2 separate regions of the Homo sapiens genome follow, and region 1 is linked to region 2. Evidence: promoter capture Hi-C in human tissues and cell types (Jung and others, 2019). All regions are on one chromosome and are shown on one strand. Each heading gives the region's core, a stretch centred on a gene start or on the middle of the fragment in contact. The rest is flanking DNA. Distances are from core to core; before and after follow the strand shown.

What was found. Contacts are between HindIII fragments. The study calls those that stand out against the background at their distance.
Region 1: a fragment that was not itself captured here is called in contact with the fragment with the promoter of RRS1 in region 2 in 1 of the 25 tissues and cell types used here (mesendoderm cells).

The regions. Positions count from the first base shown.
Region 1 is chr8:66,938,588-66,941,911 of GRCh38, forward strand. No RefSeq gene overlaps it. Among named protein-coding and RNA genes, the nearest start is that of SNHG6, 15 kb to the left of the region's middle. RefSeq lists an enhancer at 2,109-2,610. The HindIII fragment of the contact is 8,975 bases long and covers 1-3,324 here.
Region 2 is chr8:66,426,823-66,430,313 of GRCh38, forward strand. It overlaps RRS1 (regulator of ribosome synthesis 1), which reads left to right and starts at 2,192. Exons shown (of 1, transcript NM_015169.4): 1 at 2,192-3,491. The coding sequence starts at 2,310. The coding sequence ends at 3,407. It overlaps RRS1-DT (RRS1 divergent transcript), which reads right to left and starts at 2,155. Exons shown (of 3, transcript NR_040434.1): 1 at 2,120-2,155. The region is part of intron 1 of LOC102724687 (a long non-coding RNA gene); the gene reads right to left. RefSeq lists enhancers at 1,581-1,650, 2,071-2,440 and a silencer at 1,841-1,930. The HindIII fragment of the contact is 14,371 bases long and covers 1-3,491 here.

The DNA of each region.
Region 1 (3,324 bases), core at 283-2,782, 510 kb after region 2:
ACCAACTGATGATTGATGAACAAAGGCACTGAAGCGTGAAATAGCTGTGTGTGTGTGTGCACATGTGTTTACTAATAACTAAAATGTAAAATAGGAAGTGGTGGAGGGCAGTGACATAGGAAGAGGGTTCATAAATCAAGTTAAGGGGTTAGACTTCATCCTTAGATCATGGGATACCACTGAAGGGATTTGAGCAAGTATGTTATATCTTCAGGTTTGCATTTTTTGATAGGTTACTTGGGTGCAGCCAATACTGAAGGCTGGGGAAACTGTCAAGGCTACAAATTATAAGGTAAAAATGATGAATACCTGCAATAATTATTCTTACATACATTTACAAATGTAAGTATATCAATAGGGATTTTTGTTTGTTTTTTGTTTTTTGAGAGGGAGTCTTGCTCCACCGCCCAGGCTGGAGTGCAGTGCCTCAATCTTGGCTTACTGCAACCTCCGCCTCCCAGGTTCAAGCGATTCTCCTGCCTCAGCCTCTTGAGTAGCTGAAATTACAGGCACATGCCACCACGCCTGGCTAATTTTTGTGTTTTTAGTAGAGACGGGGTTTCACCATCTTGGCCAGGCTTGTTTCGAATTCCTGACCTCATGATCCACCCGCCTTGTTTCCCAAAGTTCTGGGATTACAGGTGTGAGCCACTGCACTCGGCCTGGTAGGGAAATTTTTTAACATGGCATTGCTAAGTCAGAGTGTGTATACTTATAATAGTGGGAGATACTGTCAAATTACATTTAAAAGAGGTTATGCTTCCAACAGTACAAAAGTCCTCATTTCCTCACCTTCACTAATGATGAGTATTTTTTGTATCATTGACAGGTGAAATATGTTCTTCCATTGCTTTCTAAATGTGTGTTTCTTAATTATGCCTGAACTTGTGTATCTTTTCATAAATATATTGGCTGGTTTCTTTTTTTTTTTTTTCCTGAAACAGATTCTCATTCTATTGCCCAGGCTGGAGCGCAGCGGGACAATCTCGGCTCACTGCAACCTCCACCTCGTGGGTTCAAGTGATTCTCCTGCCTCAGCCTGCTGAGTAGCTGGGATTACAGAAGCCTGCCACCATGCATGGCTAATTTTTGTATTATTAGTAGCGACGGGGTTTCACCATGTTGGCCAGGCTGGTCACGAACTCCTGACCTCAAGTGATCCGCCCACCTCAGCCTCCCAAAGTGCTGGGATTACAGGCGTGAGCCACCGTGCCCGGCCCTGTTTGGTTTCTTTCTATGAACTGCTGTTTGTTACCATTTGTGGAAGTTTCTCTTTTTTATTTTTTTTTGTGGGGGTAGGGGGACAGAGTCTCGCTCTGTTGCCTAGGCTGGAGTGCAGGGGCTCGGTCTTTGCTCCCATTTGTGCAAGTTTCCACTAAGTTGTTGGTGTTTTGCTTTTTTGAAATCTGAGAACTGATTTTATGTAAAGAGATTTACTGCTTTATCATGTGTTGTGATTTTTTTCCTCTGGCTTGTGTTTTGTCTTTTGACCTTGTCTTTTGTTTTGTGAATTTATTTTTATGTAGTCAAAATTAGCCATCTTTCCCTTTAAGGCAGCTTGCGGGTTTTTGTGTCACGCTTCACCTTACATGTTTAACTCTTCATCAAATGGAGCTAATGAGCCAGGGAAGACACACCTAGCTTGCACTGAGCTGCCTACATGCACTTTCTCAGCTATTATTTCATATCAACTTTGTGAGCTAAGGGGAAGAGGGCAAAAGGCAAGGGAAATGTATTGAGAACAAACCCTATACCAAGTGCTTACCACAGTGAGAGACCTGCAGCAAAGGACAGTGTTTTCCAACCAAACTAGGGGTGCAAACTCAAGTGCTTTAAGCATCCAGGCACTAACGGAGTAGGTAGTCTAGGACAGGAACCAGGCTCTCGGAGCCATACTGTCTGGGCCTGAATCTGGCCTCTGATTAGCTGGACAACGCTGGGCAAGTTTCTCAAGACTCTTTCCTAATCCATTTGCAAAGGTCCAGGAAGGTCCTCAGTACCAACACAGTCATTTTGGTGTGTTCTAAACTATAAGGTCAAATAAGTTGGAATACTGAGCAATTAGGTGTAAACTGTTGATGCAGATAGTCCATCTCTACTGTATAATTGGGTTAAAATGTCCATACCATGACTGGAATGTGAGGAAAATAACGTAGCTTTATGTCCTGTATCCAACCTCATCTTGTTCTAGAATCCTCACTCCTGAAGAGGAAAACTGCCAAACAGATCCCTTTTGATGTTAGTCTCTGTTCATTAAATATTCAGCCAAGTAAAAGTTGAAGCTCTATCAGTGCTGTTTACACTCAATGGGCTTCCTGCCTGTCCTTCTCCATTCATCCCTAGATGGCTTCAGGGAGCAGTTGTGAATCAAAAGGACATGGAGGGAGGGACTGCAGGCTCCCATGCTGTCTGTCCTCTGGGTCTAGACTGCACTCTGACATAGTGTGTCTGTCACTACCTGGTCCCTCAGGGTCATGCTGGCATCCACTGCTGAGATCCTGCATCCTGCTTACAATGTCCCCTTTTGGGGGCCCTGTACTCTGCGGCCTCCTGTGTCCTGGCATCCTGGCCTGAGTACTCTCAGCAGCTTGTGACCTGTGGCAGCCTGCGGTGTGGGGCTGCCCTCAGGACCCTCCCTCAGCCATTGCTCATCTTGCCTGCCCAGGGTGTGGCTCTGGGCAGAATCTAGGGCTTTGTTGGGCTTTGTCTAGAGAACTGTGGCAAGGTCAGCCCTTGTCTCCAATTTTTCACTACCCCACACTTCCCTATTTTTCTCAAGATGGACACCAGTGGAGGTTGACACCTCCACTACCTCTCAGTGCCTTGGCCTCCCTTCCCTGTTAGCACCTTTAGTAAAACTCCATTTATAGACCTCCAATCTTGGCGCTTATACATAGAGGGCAGCTTTTGGAACTTAAAATTCCATTTTCTCTCTTCATAAAGTCTGAAATTTAAGTCTATTATCTTGCTTGCTAGGGACTCTCAAAGTTATTTTTGCATTTTCTTTTTTTTTGAGACAGTTTTGCTCTCATCACCCAGGCTGGAGGGCAATGGTGCTATCTCCACTCACTGCAATCTCCACCTCCTGGGTTCAAGCGATTCTCCAGCCTCAGCTTCCCAAGTAGCTGGGATTATAGGCGCCTGCCACCACGCCCAGCTAATTTTTGTATTTCTAGTAGAGATGGGGTTTCACCATGTTGGCCAAGCTGGTTTCGAACTCCTGACCTCAGGAGATCCACCCACCGCGGCCTCCCAAAGTACTGGGATTACAGGCACGAACCACTGCGCCCAGTCTATTTTTGCATTTTCAAAGGCGTACAGAGG
Region 2 (3,491 bases), core at 942-3,441:
TGATCCAGATCATACCATTTAACACTTGTCAACCTATGCTCTTTTTTTCCCAATTCAGAAGATTGACAGAGAAGCTAACTCCTACATAACTGGTACTTCCTATTAAAGGTCCAATGACGTTACATTATATAGTCAATTTCTTTTTACCTTTCTTCCCCAGTATTCCATAAGGTCTCAGTTATCTTTGCACCTAGTGTCTGCCACATGGTAGCCATTCAATTAAATGTTTGTCAAGTGAATGAATGAATGAGAAACCAAGCCAAGCCCATAGCAGTCATATCAATACACTCAACTCTCTCCTATGGCAAATCCCAAAGGTTTAAGGCTCAAGGCAGTTAGCTAATATGGTCTTTGACCTAGCCTTGGCTACATGGGATGACTGATGTTAAAGCCTTGATGCTGAATGTTAAAGTAGGTTCAAGGGGAAAAAAAAAACAGCAAATTCTAAAATGCTTCTGGATGAGAAAGGCTAGCACAATGCTGAAACTAAACTGAGTCTATTTGCTAATTGCTATTAAGTTAATTTCATTGGTTAATTCTCCAGCATAACCCCCTCTAGGATAAACCTGGCCCCCAGTGAAAGGAAGATAAACCCTGTAAACCACGCAATCAACAGTGCCTCTGATACTCAAATGTACATCCTAGTCACCTACAGATCTTATTAAAATAAAGGTTCTGATAAATTACATCTAGAGTGAGGCCTGACGTTCTGCATTTCCAACAAGCTCCCAGGGGATATTATGCTGCTGGTATGCAGACCACACTTTAATGAGTATCAAGAGCTTGGACGACATTGCAGAGAATAGATCTACAGACTTAAAACCAGAGTTAAGATATCTCTTGTTCTTATATTCCCTAACTGCATAACTTTAGATAAGTCATTTCACCTCTCTGAGCCCTCCTTGTTTCATCTGTGAAAATAATATAGTTAATACAATAATTAATAACATAGTTAATACTAATAGCTAACACATACTGAGTTCTTACCATGTAGCAGTAACTAATGTTTTATGTTTGTCAATTTATAAATAAGGCTTAGATCAAACATCCTCTCCAAGTAATGGTGACCTGATACCTGATTGTAGGCCGTTTGACTCATACTTAACACCATGTAGCACTTACCTCCCAGAGCCTATGAAAATGAAATAATAATCGGTATTTGGCTAATTTGTACTGAGTACTCATACGCTCCAGGCCCTCGTCTAACCCTCCCTTGGACGATATTAACTCATTTATCTTATAACCACCCTAGGAAGTATTATTATCATTATCTCGCAGGCCTTAAAACGGCCTCAACAAGTAAAATTGCTGAAGGACCAACAGTGGCACAGTCAGGATTGGAACCCAGGCAGTGTAACTGCAGAGCGTGGCTTAGTTTCAGCACTGTACTAGATTAATTGAACTAGACTAGGTTCTGTAACTGCAGAATCCCGGATCTCCGAGTCAGCTAGCTCACTAGGGTCGGTGCACACCCGCGCCCACTCGGGGTGGCTTCATTGCCAGAGCCACTGACTCCCAAAACAAAACGAATCTTCTACAATTAGCTCTATGTGTATCTTTGGGATGTTATCTTTCTCGGGCCACAACTAGGAACCCTGAAAGCCGACTATGACTCCAGTGAAACTATTTGGCCCTAAGAAGGGTGATTGTCTAAACATCTTCACAACGGATTTACACTGAAATTGTAACACGCACTTGATTGGAACCCCACACCACAGGCAGTCCCAGGAATTTGTACCCGCCCCGGTCCCGGACCGCGCCCCTGGACAAACCCTCCGGCCCGCCCCTCCGGATTGAGCCCCAAGACTGTCCCCGGACCACCATCCTAAGACCACTCCCTGAACTGCCCCCCCCAAGACCGCCCCCTAGATCGCCCCCCGGGACCGCCCTCTCTAGACCGCCTGCGAGACTGTCCCCGGACCGCCCCCTGGACCACCCCCTAGGCGGCCCCCCGAGCTGTCCCTGGACCGCCCTCTAGACCGCCTCCCGCCCCCTGCATCCTGGGAATCGTAGTCCCAATCCTGCTCTGGAACTAGCAGTGCGGCCTGCTCGGGCCAGCTCCGCCTCTATCTGGCGCCAGCCTAAAGGTCCCGCTTCTAATCCCATCATCTCTCCATACCGCCCTCTGCCGGCCTTTCCTCTGGTCGCCCGGATTGCGAGCCGCTTCCGGACGCTCCGGAAGCGAACCTTTCTTTTCCGGATTGGGCATCCCGGCATCTGCACGTGGTTATGCTGCCGGAGTTTGGGCCGCCACTGTAGGAAAAGTAACTTCAGCTGCAGCCCCAAAGCGAGTGAGCCGAGCCGGAGCCATGGAGGGCCAGAGCGTGGAGGAGCTGCTCGCAAAGGCAGAGCAGGACGAGGCAGAGAAGTTGCAACGCATCACGGTGCACAAGGAGCTGGAGCTGCAGTTTGACCTGGGCAACCTGCTGGCGTCGGACCGGAACCCCCCGACCGGGCTGCGGTGCGCCGGACCCACGCCGGAGGCCGAGCTACAGGCCCTGGCGCGGGACAACACGCAACTGCTCATCAACCAGCTGTGGCAGCTGCCCACGGAGCGCGTGGAAGAGGCGATAGTGGCGCGGCTGCCGGAGCCCACCACACGCCTGCCGCGAGAGAAGCCTCTGCCCCGACCGCGGCCACTTACACGCTGGCAGCAGTTCGCGCGCCTCAAGGGCATCCGTCCCAAGAAGAAGACCAACCTGGTGTGGGACGAGGTGAGTGGCCAGTGGCGGCGGCGCTGGGGCTACCAGCGCGCCCGGGACGACACCAAAGAATGGCTGATTGAGGTGCCCGGCAATGCCGACCCCTTGGAGGACCAGTTCGCCAAGCGGATTCAGGCCAAGAAGGAAAGGGTGGCCAAGAACGAGCTGAACCGGCTGCGTAACCTGGCCCGCGCGCACAAGATGCAGCTGCCCAGCGCGGCCGGCTTGCACCCTACCGGACACCAGAGTAAGGAGGAGCTGGGCCGCGCCATGCAAGTGGCCAAGGTCTCCACCGCCTCTGTGGGGCGCTTTCAGGAGCGCCTCCCCAAGGAGAAGGTGCCCCGGGGCTCCGGCAAGAAAAGGAAGTTTCAACCCCTTTTCGGGGACTTTGCAGCCGAGAAAAAGAACCAGTTGGAGCTGCTTCGTGTCATGAACAGCAAGAAGCCTCAGCTGGATGTGACTAGGGCCACCAATAAGCAGATGAGGGAGGAGGACCAGGAGGAGGCCGCCAAGAGGAGGAAAATGAGCCAGAAGGGCAAGAGAAAGGGAGGCCGGCAGGGGCCTGGGGGCAAGAGGAAAGGGGGCCCGCCCAGCCAGGGAGGGAAGAGGAAAGGGGGCTTGGGAGGCAAGATGAATTCTGGGCCGCCTGGCTTGGGTGGCAAGAGAAAAGGAGGACAGCGCCCAGGAGGAAAGAGGAGGAAGTAATAGTTTCTAACTGTCGGACCCGTCTGTAAACCAAGGACTATGAATACTAAATGTTAAGTTCTAGGCAATTATACGGGGACTCAG